3 separate regions of the Homo sapiens genome follow, and all the other regions are linked to region 1. The links are contacts of gene promoters, found by promoter capture Hi-C in human tissues and cell types (Jung and others, 2019). All regions are on one chromosome and are shown on one strand. The core of a region is centred on a gene start or on the middle of the fragment in contact, and the rest is flanking DNA. Distances in the headings are between cores, read along the strand shown.

Evidence for each region. The method cuts DNA at HindIII sites, captures the fragments that hold promoters and counts their contacts. A contact is called where the count stands out against the background at its distance.
Region 2: a fragment that was not itself captured here is called in contact with the fragment with the promoter of CISD2 in region 1 in 1 of the 25 tissues and cell types used here (pancreas).
Region 3: a fragment that was not itself captured here is called in contact with the fragment with the promoter of CISD2 in region 1 in 1 of the 25 tissues and cell types used here (heart left ventricle).

What each region holds. Positions count from the first base shown.
Region 1 is chr4:102,867,532-102,871,466 of GRCh38, forward strand. It overlaps CISD2 (CDGSH iron sulfur domain 2), which reads left to right and starts at 1,461. Exons shown (of 3, transcript NM_001008388.5): 1 at 1,461-1,656. The coding sequence starts at 1,554. It also overlaps a transcript of UBE2D3 not described here. RefSeq lists an enhancer at 912-1,051 and silencers at 1,282-1,571, 1,602-1,721. The HindIII fragment of the contact is 16,318 bases long and covers 1-3,935 here.
Region 2 is chr4:101,825,351-101,829,754 of GRCh38, forward strand. All of the region lies in intron 1 of BANK1 (B cell scaffold protein with ankyrin repeats 1), which reads left to right. Among named protein-coding and RNA genes, the nearest start is that of BANK1, 37 kb to the left of the region's middle. The HindIII fragment of the contact is 3,526 bases long and covers 1,220-4,404 here.
Region 3 is chr4:101,279,470-101,283,727 of GRCh38, forward strand. All of the region lies in intron 1 of PPP3CA (protein phosphatase 3 catalytic subunit alpha), which reads right to left. Among named protein-coding and RNA genes, the nearest start is that of MIR8066, 41 kb to the left of the region's middle. RefSeq lists an enhancer at 63-357. The HindIII fragment of the contact is 3,822 bases long and covers 250-4,071 here.

The DNA.
Region 1 (3,935 bases), core at 211-2,710:
AGGGAGTGAAATTTTCTCCTCTTACCCTTCAAATCTTTTAGAGATATTAATAAAAACAACTATCCAGCCTGGGCGATATAATGGGACTCCATCTACATACACACAAAAATTTTTAAAATTCGTTGGGTGTGGCAGCACACGCCTGTAAACCCAGCTACTTGGAAGGCTGAGGCAGAAGGATCCCTTAAGCCGGAGTTAGAGTCTGCGGTGAGCTATGATCTGACCACTGCACTACAGCCTGGGCGATAGAGCGAAACCTTGTAACAACAACAACAACAACAAAATTAAAACCTTCAAGATCAAGCTTGCCCAACAGGATGGCTTTGAATGCCACTCAATGCAAATCTGTAAACTTTCTTAAAACTTTATGAAAAAAAATTTTTTTTTAGCTCATTAGCTACCATTAGTGTTAGTGTATTTATGTGTGGCCCAAGACAATTCTTCTTCCAGTGTGGCCTAGGGAAGCCATAAGGACCCCCTGCGCTAGACTTCAGCAGAAGCCTTGTAACATAAAGAAAACCATACATAAGGCTTTAGATTCTTTTTTTTTTTTTTTTTTGTGACGGAGTCTTGCTCTGTCTCCCAGGCTAGAGTGCAGTGGCACATTCTCGGCTCACTGCAACCTCCGCCTCCCTGGTTCAAGCGATTCTCCTGCCTCAGTCTCCCGAGTAGCTGGGACAGGCACCTGCCACCGCGCCCGGCTAATTTTTCTATTTTTAGTAGAGACGGGGTTTCACCATCTTGACCTGGCTGGCCTCGAACTCCTGACCTCGTGATCCACCCGCCTCGGCCTCCCTAAGTGCTGGGATTACAGACGTGAGCCACCGCGCCCGGCCAGCTTTGGATTCTTTTACCACTTTCCCGAAGGAAAAGGAACTGAAAATATCTAAGGAAGGACTACTACGAATCTTCTCTGAGTGGCAAAAACCAGAGGTTTTTGGAGCTAGGGCTGCAGTTAAGTTGCCAAGGGGCAGAGATGTAAACAGTTCCTGGTTTAGTTAAAATATTTTAATTTTTATTTTTTTAAGCCTGGCCTTTGGGTGAAGGAGTAAAATTAGGCACTGGGGTCTGGGTAGGGGGAGGATACTCATGGGCGAGTATGCAACCCTAGGGCCACAGCACCCAAACTGTAGGGGAAGAGGCGGGGCGAGAGGGGACGAAGTAGAGACAGCAAGAGACTCACTTTTGAAAGGCACTTTCGGTTAGAAAGCATTCTCACATGCTTATCTCATCGCACACAGTATCCTTTCTGCTGGTCTCCAGCATCTACAGACGTTAAAGGCCCAAGAGGAGGGCCACCTTCACACGAGATTCCGAGGAGGGCCTCGCTACCCGCCAGTTCCCGCGCCTCGGCAGTCCGCCGCGAGCGTACGTCACTCGCCCGCCGCCAATCGGCGCCCGGCAGGTCACCTCTCCTCCCAGGGCCCGCCGCCCCGCCCGCCGCCCAGGCCGAGGCCGCCAGTGCCCGCCGGCCGCTTCCGCTCCCGGCGCAGGCGCGGCAGCTTGGCCAGAGCGGAGGGGGCTCGGGAGAGGAGTGGACGCCGCTGGCCAGGATGGTGCTGGAGAGCGTGGCCCGTATCGTGAAGGTGCAGCTCCCTGCATATCTGAAGCGGCTCCCAGTCCCTGAAAGCATTACCGGGTTCGCTAGGCTCACAGGTAATCCTCCCCCATCAGCCAGTCCCCATCCTTGCACGTTCGCCAAGCGGGGGAAGGAGGCGTAAAAATCCTAGGGCCAAGGGGCGGGACGGAGCTCGGCGCCTGGCACGTGATCCCCGCGCGCAGAGGAAGGTGGGCGCGCGCCGACGCAGCTGCCTGGGGAACGCCTGTGAGGCAGTCTCCGGGTGCTTGATGCCCCAGGGTCTTTTGTCCTCGGAGTTGTCTCCGGTGTCATTCCGTGGCAAGATACCAGGTTTTTGCAGAGAAGGTGCTGAGTTGGGAACAGGCCAGTCTCTTTCATCTCCTGTCCTGCTCATCGCTCTCTGTAGCGTACTTGTTTATTTTAAAGCGGGCTAAGTCGTCGTTATCTAAGGCCTCATGTAACAGGCAGCCCCAGCTACCGGCTGGGTTGTACCCTCAGCATGTGGGTGGGAGTGTGTGGGAGAGAAATATAGACTTACACGTAACACGTATATGACCGTTTTATTTAGTAACGAAATTAGGAGATAACCTCCATTCCCTCAGGTTAGAATTGACCTATCATAGGTGGCATTTGAGGTCATCTCCGTTTCTACGGTCCCGGGGCCCGCTGCGGTAACTTAAGTTGGAAGAAAGATACCTTACCCAAGAAAGTATTCGAAGGCCGGTATGAGGAGTGAAATCTTAGAAAATGAAATTTAGTGAATATATGTAACGTTCTATACTTAAGGACCCTCACTTAACCCACACAACTCATGAGGATTTCACATCTAAAGGATGAAAATCTCCAGAATGCAGTCAACACTTGGGAGATTGTGTTGAGTTATGAGCATTTCATTGTAAGGGGGATATTTCTAAACGGAACTCAGACCGAGTAGGATGGTGAAGGAATCAGCAAGTATTGAACTCCTATGTCCTAGGTTATCAGGGAGTGCAAACATGAATTAAGATAATTCTGAGGTAAATAGGGTTGCTTCGCCGGGAACGTTCTAAAGATCTGTAGTACCTGACCTAAAATACAGCAATCGCACAGCTGTCTGGTAGAAGAAAAATAAGATTTGTGTAGACTAAAATATAGAACTGATAACAAATTAACCAAATTAGTGAAGGTTATTGGGAGGTGAATTTCAGTCTAAGGAAGATTTTTTTTTAAATTAAAGAATGCTTTCCCCAAACAAATGTGGTGCTTCAGTGATAGCCCCTCTCAAAGATGAAAAAAACAAACAAAAAGACTCTGGTGGTGGGTGGTCGATAGATTTAGAAGGGATAAACTAGATGACAAATTCTCTTCCAAATCTAGAGATTCATTGAATTATGGTCAGACAGACGCTCTGTTGAGTGGATTGTGAGATTTTAATATTTTTTAAATATTAAGAGTTTTAGTAGAAAACATGCAATTGAATAGAAAGCATGGTAACAATAATAAACATTAAAAAGGAACATTAAACATCAGAAGCAATGCAAAAGTAAAATAAAATGAAAAACGTTTCACATCAAGTGTTTATAAACATCAGATCTTTTGATCCTACCAGTTTACTCTGACAGAATTGCAGCAATTCCATAAAATTTTGGCTTTCCCCACTTCTTTTACTTAAGTACTTTACATATTTTAATATAATCCTCATTTTTTCCCTAACAACTAAATACTTATTTTAGTTTTAACATCACAATGGGCCTAACCATTCATTCCCTTACAACTGGAAATTAGAAATGTTTCTATTTTTTAAAATTCATTATGTAATAGTTCATTGGCAAGTAAGCAAATACCAGTTGTCATATTTCTCCCTTTTGGATGTCTTCACTTAAATAGCAATACCAGGCCAAAACGGTATGATCATATTGTGACTTTTGTACCCTTTTGTCATTTTGACATTTGTACCTTCTTACTAATTTGCATAAGTTAACTGTTGAGGAATTTTTAACAGTCAAGAAAGGAAAATGTCCAATGAATTACCTATGTTTTTTCCAGATGGTGGCTGCATTTGTATTAGTTTCGATTCTCTGTAAATCAAGTATAATTGAAGAAAATTAGAAAGTATGAAACTAGATTTAATGGCTAGATTTTAGAAGTATGCTTTCTTTTCTTGAGGATCCCTAGTGTCAACAAATATTTAATTCCTATTAAAGACATTAAGAAAACTCAACCAAAACCTTTTCTCTCTTAAGAATATATAGTAACTTCCTCTTAAAAGTTGTTAAATATTTAATATGAAGACTGATTCTCAGAAATAATGACCATTCTGAGAAGTATTTTAATAACATACATTTAACTTAAGTCCCATTACAGTGTGGCTATAGTT
Region 2 (4,404 bases), core at 1,733-4,232, 1.0 Mb before region 1:
TTTTGAGAATTTATCAAGAACTATTTTGGGGTCTGTGGTCCTAGATATTATTCAGTTACAAACTTCTATTTTCTAGAAAAAGGGAAAAGAAAACCATGGCTTATTAAAAGAGTTTTTATTAACTTTTATATTTCAACACAACTTAGCTTCATATGAAAAGAAAGAAAGTCAGCATAAAGATCAACAACTATCTTTGTGGCTCTGATAAGTAACTTAACCCCTCTGAGCCTCGATGAGAACATCAGTAAAATAAGACTAACAGGACCAACTTCCTGCAGTTTGGTGAGGATTAAATGAGGTAATACATGTCAACTGCTTAGCAACATGCCTGGTACATAGAAAGTCTCAGTAAATAATAATTGAGAAAACTAAAGATTAAAATACTGAAATGATTTCATCTGTAGAGAAGAAAGGAATGATATTTGATGTCAAATTCAGGTTTTTGAGAATTGTCATATGAGGTTATTGACAAAATATAAGTCAAATAAAAAGGCTCAATTTTCAACATAAGTAAAAATGCATCTAGAGTATTGAGAAAGACTACCTGTGTAATTTTCTTGGGCTTTGAAAGACAGGTTATGATTGTCTCTATTTTTGATTTCATATAGTTGTCTGCCAATTGTGATACCAAGCCAAATAACGTGGGAGTATTTATTCTTTACATTAACATCTACTCATAGCTTATTCTACAATTTTCTTGATTTAAATTATAGAGTCAAAAAGTCAATTCTGTAAATTCTTCATAGATTACTCTACTGTTAGAGTACATGATATGTTCTGTTTCCTCTTTCTCCTTGGTAGGAACCCAGACTCCCAGTAAGCCTTCACATACTGTGCATAGTTAAGACTACCCCATAGGCTGCTTGATATTGACTAATCTAACTCATATCCCTGCAAATAATCTACTGTAATCTTTTAAATAATATTATTGTGTCCTTTGCTGTTAGAAGTTAAAAGTATAGGGTATAGGGCAGACTGCCCGCATTGGAGTCCTGATTCTAATACCACTTCAGTTTTCCCATCTGTAAAATGAGGAAAACATTAGTACTTACTTAAGAGTGTAATTGTGAGAATTAAATGAAACAGCATGTGTGAAACACATAGAGACCTAATTTATTTTAAATGCTTGATAATTTTAATTATTATTAATTTTATTTATACTCCTACTATTTTTATAACTGTAGACCAGCTTATTCTGGCTATATGCAATATGAAGAAAACCCTCCTCCTACCGTTCCTCAAACATAAAAATACTGAATTATGGCATAATATTTCTGTTTGTTAAACAAGTTATTTAGCATCCAGGCTAGATGAGATACTACACTACTATACACAGAATAACAGAACTATATTGATGATTCATATACAACTTACGTGTGATTCCCATATGTTTTCTGCCAGATGTTTTTTTCTCATTCTACATACATAAATATGTAAAAAAAAGTTGTTGAATATCTGTTCAAGAAATTGTGCTTGGCATTGTGTAGGAATTTGGATTGAAAAATAAAGCATCTGCCCTCAGAGATAATATTTATATCACGAGAAAAGACAGAAATACATAAACCCAATAATTCAATAAAATACAAAAGCTCTCAGAATCATTATGGTTTTCTTCACCACATCAGTGGTGTAGAAAATACATGCTCTGTTTTCAGAGGAAGAAGATGACAAGAGTTTGGCGTTTCACTCTTTGTACTCATGATAATACTGTACAAACTGATCTTTAAAAATGATTATGTTTTGTAAAATAATATAAGTTTATTATAAAAATATAAGCAATATGGAAGAGTGAAGAAAAAGAAAGCCATATATCTCTCAAAGTCCTCTCTCTCACATAAACAATTGTTGCTAATGATAGAATTATTTTAGGTAGATAGGCATGGAGGTACTATTTTATTAAAAATGAGATTTGGGTTTACATGCTATCTTTAAATATAAAGTTAATTTAAAGTAAAACTAATGATATATTTTAAGATAAAAATTTCTTTGACTACTTTTTAGATTATTTATTATTGTTTAGGGAAAAATGATACAAAAAATATTGAATGAAGTCATTATTTTAAATTAATGTTTCAAATTTAGGCAGTGTTAAAGGATTAAATTCTATTAAAGATGAGGTTAGAATGTTTTACTTTCTCCTCCCCAAATGCTCAGTTTTTCCCACTGTGTAATCACTTTTATTTCATCAAGTTAAAATGTGCGTTTTGTAGTGCAATCATAATGCCCTCAGCATTTGGTTGTTGTTCTATATGTACGTGTATTCAACTCACCCTATTCTTTTTCCAAAGTTTTTTTAATTTCTGTTTACTTTACTTTGGTTCTGCTATTTTTTGGCTGGATTTTCCTCTATTATTTAAATTTTGATTACAGTTACACTTTCATATAAAACAATGATAAAACATAGTGAAAATCAACAGTTCTTCACTTTCCCTTTCCCCAAATACTATTCCACACTTCTAAGAACCTTAAAAGCCATAGTTTTTTCAAAGTTTCTTTTTTTATTCCTTTGCATATTTCAAAAAGATACATTTATATTATGATTTCTTGATTTACTAATTTTAGCTATTATCTATTGTCTTCCTATAAAACATAAGATAAGTATTTGTATACTTTTGTTAGTCTGACTCTTCTCTTATTCTCCAGGATATTTAAATCTCAACTTGTCATTAATTAATCAATTTTTATATTATTATAACTATAAACACATGCACACTATTGTTCCAAATAGTCTATAATTATCCTGCTTTCTTTCATAAATTTTGGGGCTTTTTTCCAGAATTAATATTTACTTCATTTTTGTTTTTTATGCAAAATATTGAAATGTACCTATCTTTAATTCTTTTTGTAAATGCCCTATTAGACCTGTCCAACCTCCATTATTAGCATATTTTCTCTAATTTTCAAATACATGTGATAATGTTACAAATGCTTTATTTATTTCCTATGTCTTTCCCTCCCCAAGTCATATAGCTTTTGCAGGTGTATTGCAGTATAACTTACAAACACAATCTAAGATATGTAGATGAGTGAATTTATATATATATATATATATATATATATCTCCATATATATCTACCACCTAGATCAAGATATAGACCATATCCAGAACTCCAGCAGGCTCTCTCATACCTATTTTGTTAATTCTACCCTAAAATATTCAGATCTGTATCACTGTGAATCAAGTTTTCTGCTTTGGAACTTTACATAAATACAATTATGCAATATATACTCTTTCTTCTTTCACTCAATATTATGTCTTTCGATTCATCCATGTTGCATGTAGCATTGTTACATTCTTTTTCATTGTTATGCAATATTTTATAGTATGAATATACTGTGAAAATTAGTTTTGTAAAAATTTTCTTATAATTCATCTGGCCTTGAAAATGCTCTAAAGAAATCAAGACCAACCTCACATTTCTCTTATTGTGGTGACTTTGTTTTCTTTCCTGGATATGTGAAGAAATTTTATAATTATCATTAAGTTAAGGACAATTTAATCAAGATCTGTTTTCTCTTCTTTTTTTTTTGAGACAGAGTCTCACTCTGTTGCCCAGGCTGGAGTGCAGTGGCATAATCTCCGCTCACTGCAAACTCCGCCTCCTGGGTTCAAGCCATTCTCCTGACTCAGCCTCCCAAGTGCCTGGGACTACAGGCACCCACCACCACACCCAGCTAATTTTTTGTATTTTTAGTAGAGATGGGGTTTCACTGTGTTAGCTAGAATGGTCTCGATCTCCTGACCTCGTGATCAGCCCGCCTCAGCCTCCCAAAGTGCTGGGATTACAGGTGTGAGCCACCGCGCCGGGCAAGATCTGTTTTCTTTAACAGTTTTAGCTGGAGCCTGATTGTTTCACATTGATCCATAGAGCTGGTTCCTTTATCTTTCTTATTTCAAGGATTTTAAAAATTATTAAAAATTACATGTTTTACAGTGTTTTAATGTGTATATTATTCTCTTCTACGTCAGGCTTTTGGATCATCCTTATACTGAATCTTTTCTGTTTTTGACTCTCAACTAAATATATCGTATTTTCAACAATTGTGTTAGCCTTGTTCTGTTTCTCCTCCTTTGTTTTTTTTTGATTTACTATGAAAATATCAAGCTTTTCTTTTGGGCCAGAAATTAAAATATTATCTATAACATTATCTATGTCTAATCTACTTATTTCTTTTTCTAATTTATTTATTATCTGGGTAATGGTATTGTTTTGGCTCGTTTCCTTATTTATTATACTCTTTCATATCATTCTTTTTAAAATTTAAATCAACTTGTCTTTGAATTCTAGTTTTATTTAATCTATGATTTTTTATACTATGAAGGACTTTCATAGAGTTTTTCTCTGGTATAAGCAAATTAATATATTGCCTAGTGAGCATATTAAAATTTTTGAGAAATAATAA
Region 3 (4,258 bases), core at 911-3,410, 1.6 Mb before region 1:
CAGCCAATGATCAATTAGAATTTCCGTTAGTAAAGAGTGGGAAAAAGCATTCCCATGACTCACATGGGATAATTGCTAAATGGTTAATGCTGTATATAACTGCGTATTTTGTATCAGAATAAGTACAGCCCTCCAAAAGATAACTTGCAGAGTCATTCATCAGCTTCAACTGAGCAGCCTGATTGAAACCAGCTGAGCCAATGACATCACCACAGGCTTTTTACTATAAAAAGGGCAAGCTCTGTGAGGTCAGGAAGTAGAACTAAGCTCCGTGAACAGAAGCCAAGCTGAAAGAGGGAAGAGCCAAGAGAAGTTCAGAGAAGAGACTCATTCCAAGAAGAAGCTAGAATGAGCAATTTGCTCAGAGACAGCTGCAGAAGAAAAAGGCACACAATGGAAATCTTCCTTTAAGAATAAGGGGCTGCTGTTTCTCACTAAAGAAGTAAGTTATCTAAAGTGAAGTTTCAAAGGAGAAATTGACGGAAGCACTTTCACATTTTCAGTTCCTGGAACTGAAATCAACTATAACATCATCGTGGTAGTAATGTTCATGTAGTCTTTTCCCTCAATGTATATTAATTGAGCACTTACTATGGACCAGGCACTGTAGTAAGAAATGGGAACACATTAGCGAATAAAATGGACAAAAGTCACTGCCCTCTTAGAGCATATATTCTTGGAATGTAAAGCAATAAACAGACAAATATACGGCATGTCAAATAAGCATTAGAGAGAAAATTAAGAAGAAAAAGTAGCCAGATTGAGAATAGTGATATTTGAGCAGACGTAAGGAGGTGGGGAGACTAAGCCATGTGGGTATCTGGGAGAAAAGCATGGCAAACAGAGGTAATAGCAAATATAAAGGCCTTGAGCTGTGAATCTGTTTTCTTTTTTAAATAAATATCAAGAAGGCCACCATTACTGCTCAGAAAGAACAAGGGAAAGCAAGAGTCTGAGTGTGGACAAGTTAATTTAGACAGGCAAGTGAAAGTGTTAAGCAGGTATTTTGTATATATGAGACTAGAGGCACTGAGGAAAGATTCAAACTGTAGATAAAAACTGGAAACGGACCAGGTGTGGTGGCTCATGCCTGTAATCCCAGCACTGTAGGAGGCCGAGGCGGGTGGATCACCTGAGGTCAGGAGTTCGAGACCGGCCTAGCCAACATAGTGAAACCCCATCTCTACTAAAAATACAAAAATTAGCCGGGCATGGTGGCATGCACCTGCAGTTCCAGCTACTTGGGAGGCTGAGGCTGGAGAATCACTTGAACCCAGGAGGCAGAGGCTGCAGTGAGCTGAGATCACCTCATTGCACTCCAGCCTGGGTGACAGAGCCAGACTCAGTCTCAAAAAAAAAAAAAAAAACTGGAAACCATCAGTGTCATACATAAAAGAAGAATGCTTGAGCTCACTCCACAAATGCATTATATAGAAAAGAGAAGGGGGCATTCCAATGGTTAAATGGTTAGAGACTGGAGAAACAAAGAAGAAATAGGAAAAAAAAATGACTGAGAGAGAACAGCCTATGATGCAGGAGGAGAACCAAGAGCATGTGATTTGCAAGTACTCCAGAGAAGAATGTGTTCCGGGAGAGACAGTGTGATCAGCTGTGTTAAATGCTATGCTAAGTCAAATTAGATGAGCCTGCTATTCAACCTGACAACACTGAGGTTATTGGAGACTTTGACAAAAGAAGGCTCTGAAGCAGTGAATGAGGAAAAGCTTTGGAGAGGGTTCAAGGAAGAATGGGAGAAGAGCAATTTGAGACAGTGAACGTACATAATTCTTTTGGAGAGTTTTGCTCTGAAGAGAAATGCAGCAGTAGCTGGATAAGAACATGGGCTCAGGAGAAGCTTTATTATTTCAAGACAGTAAAAACTATGGCATCTTCTGCTAATGAGTATGATCCAACAAAGAATAGAAAATGCTGATGCAGAAAAGAGGACTTCCTGGGGCAATGCTCTTAAATACGTAAGAGGGGGTGAGATCCAGTAAAGAAGCCTTGGCTCTTCTTTGGTCTAAGTGAAATTTAATGTGTATGGATTATAATATAATTTGATTTGTATAAAAAGTTAATATAATTGAGTTGGCTATGAATGAGAATGTATCAAAAAAATTTGCCACAACTTTCTGAAAGTCTTAAGTTATTTAGGCTATGCTACAGATGGTTTTTAAGTCAATCAAATGTAATAAGAAAGTGGTTAAACATTCAGCATCCAACTCAACTAAGTCAATCGAATGTAATAAGAAAGTGGTTAAACAGCATTCAACTCAAGTAAGAAAACAAACTAGGTTCTTCCATAATTTCATTTTAATTTTATATAGTGAAAAAAGCATCCTCCCTAAATTAATCAAAATGCTTGTCTACATATAACAAAGACAGACTTGCTAGTTATTGAGGGTCTTTTTCCTGTACTAGTTGCCAAATGACAAACCTGGGGAGGAAAACAGAAGAATCTGCATTCAACATACATTCAGTTAGACCTCAGGGGGCCTATAAATACACATTCATGGAGCTTTCCATATCTACAAAAATTGATATTTGATATCCCTCCACCCCATACCTTTTCCTGGGAAAAGCTAGTCCAGAAAATGAGAATATATTATCTTCGCATCTATGGCAAGTTTGAAAGTGACTTGCAGTTATTCTATATGAGCTTAGATAATCCACTACCAAAATCATTTTAAATCTGGCTTAACTGCTAAGGCCAATTTTGAGTAGAAGTGTTTTTGACAGTCAAAGCCTTGATAACCACTTCACACCTACCTAGAGGCCCCTGCAACCAAGAGCTAAGTGGCAACAGAAAAAAACTACAGTTTTTCTATCCTATCTGTGAAAACCAGAAGAATGACAAAGGTGATTAGATGAGTGAAATGTGATGGACAGACCTCACTACAATTCATGTTAGATACAGGTCCAGACCTCTTCCCAGAAGATTGCTTTAAGTTGGTAAGACATGGACTTACCTGATAGGTCCTGAATTCCACTGGCCTGTTCTAAATGACAGCGCAGTCAGCATATTCCCTGGATTGGACTGATCTCAGGGCTTCTAGTCCTGGCTTCCTGTGTCAAGGTAGTGTTTGACTCACACTCATTCTGGGTTCTTCCCCATTTCTTCTTTGGTCTATTCACTTGTTGATTTTGCAACCCAAATAATACTATTGTCAATAGATGTCCAAAGACTGGGGTAGAATTAATTTAACATAATGCATGTGGCTGCTTAAACACCCTAGCAAGCTTCCCTTCCTGAGCCTGCTGAGATGCAGGAAGTAAAGCAAGGCTCCCACCCACCTCGCACCACAGAAACATGGCTGATTTACACAGAGGAGGAAAACCTGTTTCCGGGGCAGTCCCCAACATATTTAGCATGGACTTTTAAAACAGCTCATCCAACTCTAATTTGAAATCTAACTTTGATAAAATAAGCAGCCATTTTAAGTAAATGCCTTTCTTTTCTATCTATCCTTCACTTATCTGGGTCAAGTATTATTTGGTTCATATGTATTAAATAATAAGAGTTAATTTTATAGGTTCACATAATACAATTAACACATTCTCAATCAAAGCTCTTTCTTCATGTTTTAAAAATGTAAAACAAAACAAAAAACCCTTCAAAATCAAAACCTGCACTACTCAGTTTTCTCACAAATTATTAGTATTACCACTTTACAGGAAAATAAAAATTTACGGGAAAGCGTCAAATTTCAAAAAGATGGTTTTCAAACACTTGGTTTTAACATGTAGCTGGTCAACAACATAGGTTCAGATTAAAGCAAGTATCTATCCCTAATGTGGCAAATAATTTCGTGACTTGAAATAGCAAAACATCTAAGCCTTGGTATCAATACTCTCTGTAACAAGAGAGCATTGTCTAGCATGGCTCATATTGTTGCTTTTGGCTATAATGTTCTTTGATTTCCTTCTACACAATGTTATAAATCATTAGTCTCTCAGGTTAGTAAAAGTTTACTCAACATAGAGTGGTATTTTTAATTAGCAATAAAAAAGGTAAATAAGTCAGGTGCAATACAAGTAAATTAACAAAATAAGAGTATTTTAAAGTTAGAAAAATCAGTGCTTGCAGGGAAAAACATATTTCTCTTAAGTAATGTGGCAAACCGCTCTTAAGACTGCTGCCTGGCTCCACTTCCTCCTTCCCTGGGAACTGTCAGCACTCTGGCAGGTACGCAATCATTCTGCAACCCAACCTACAGTTGATTGATTTGGAGGGTAGACACCAAACTCATGTAAAGAC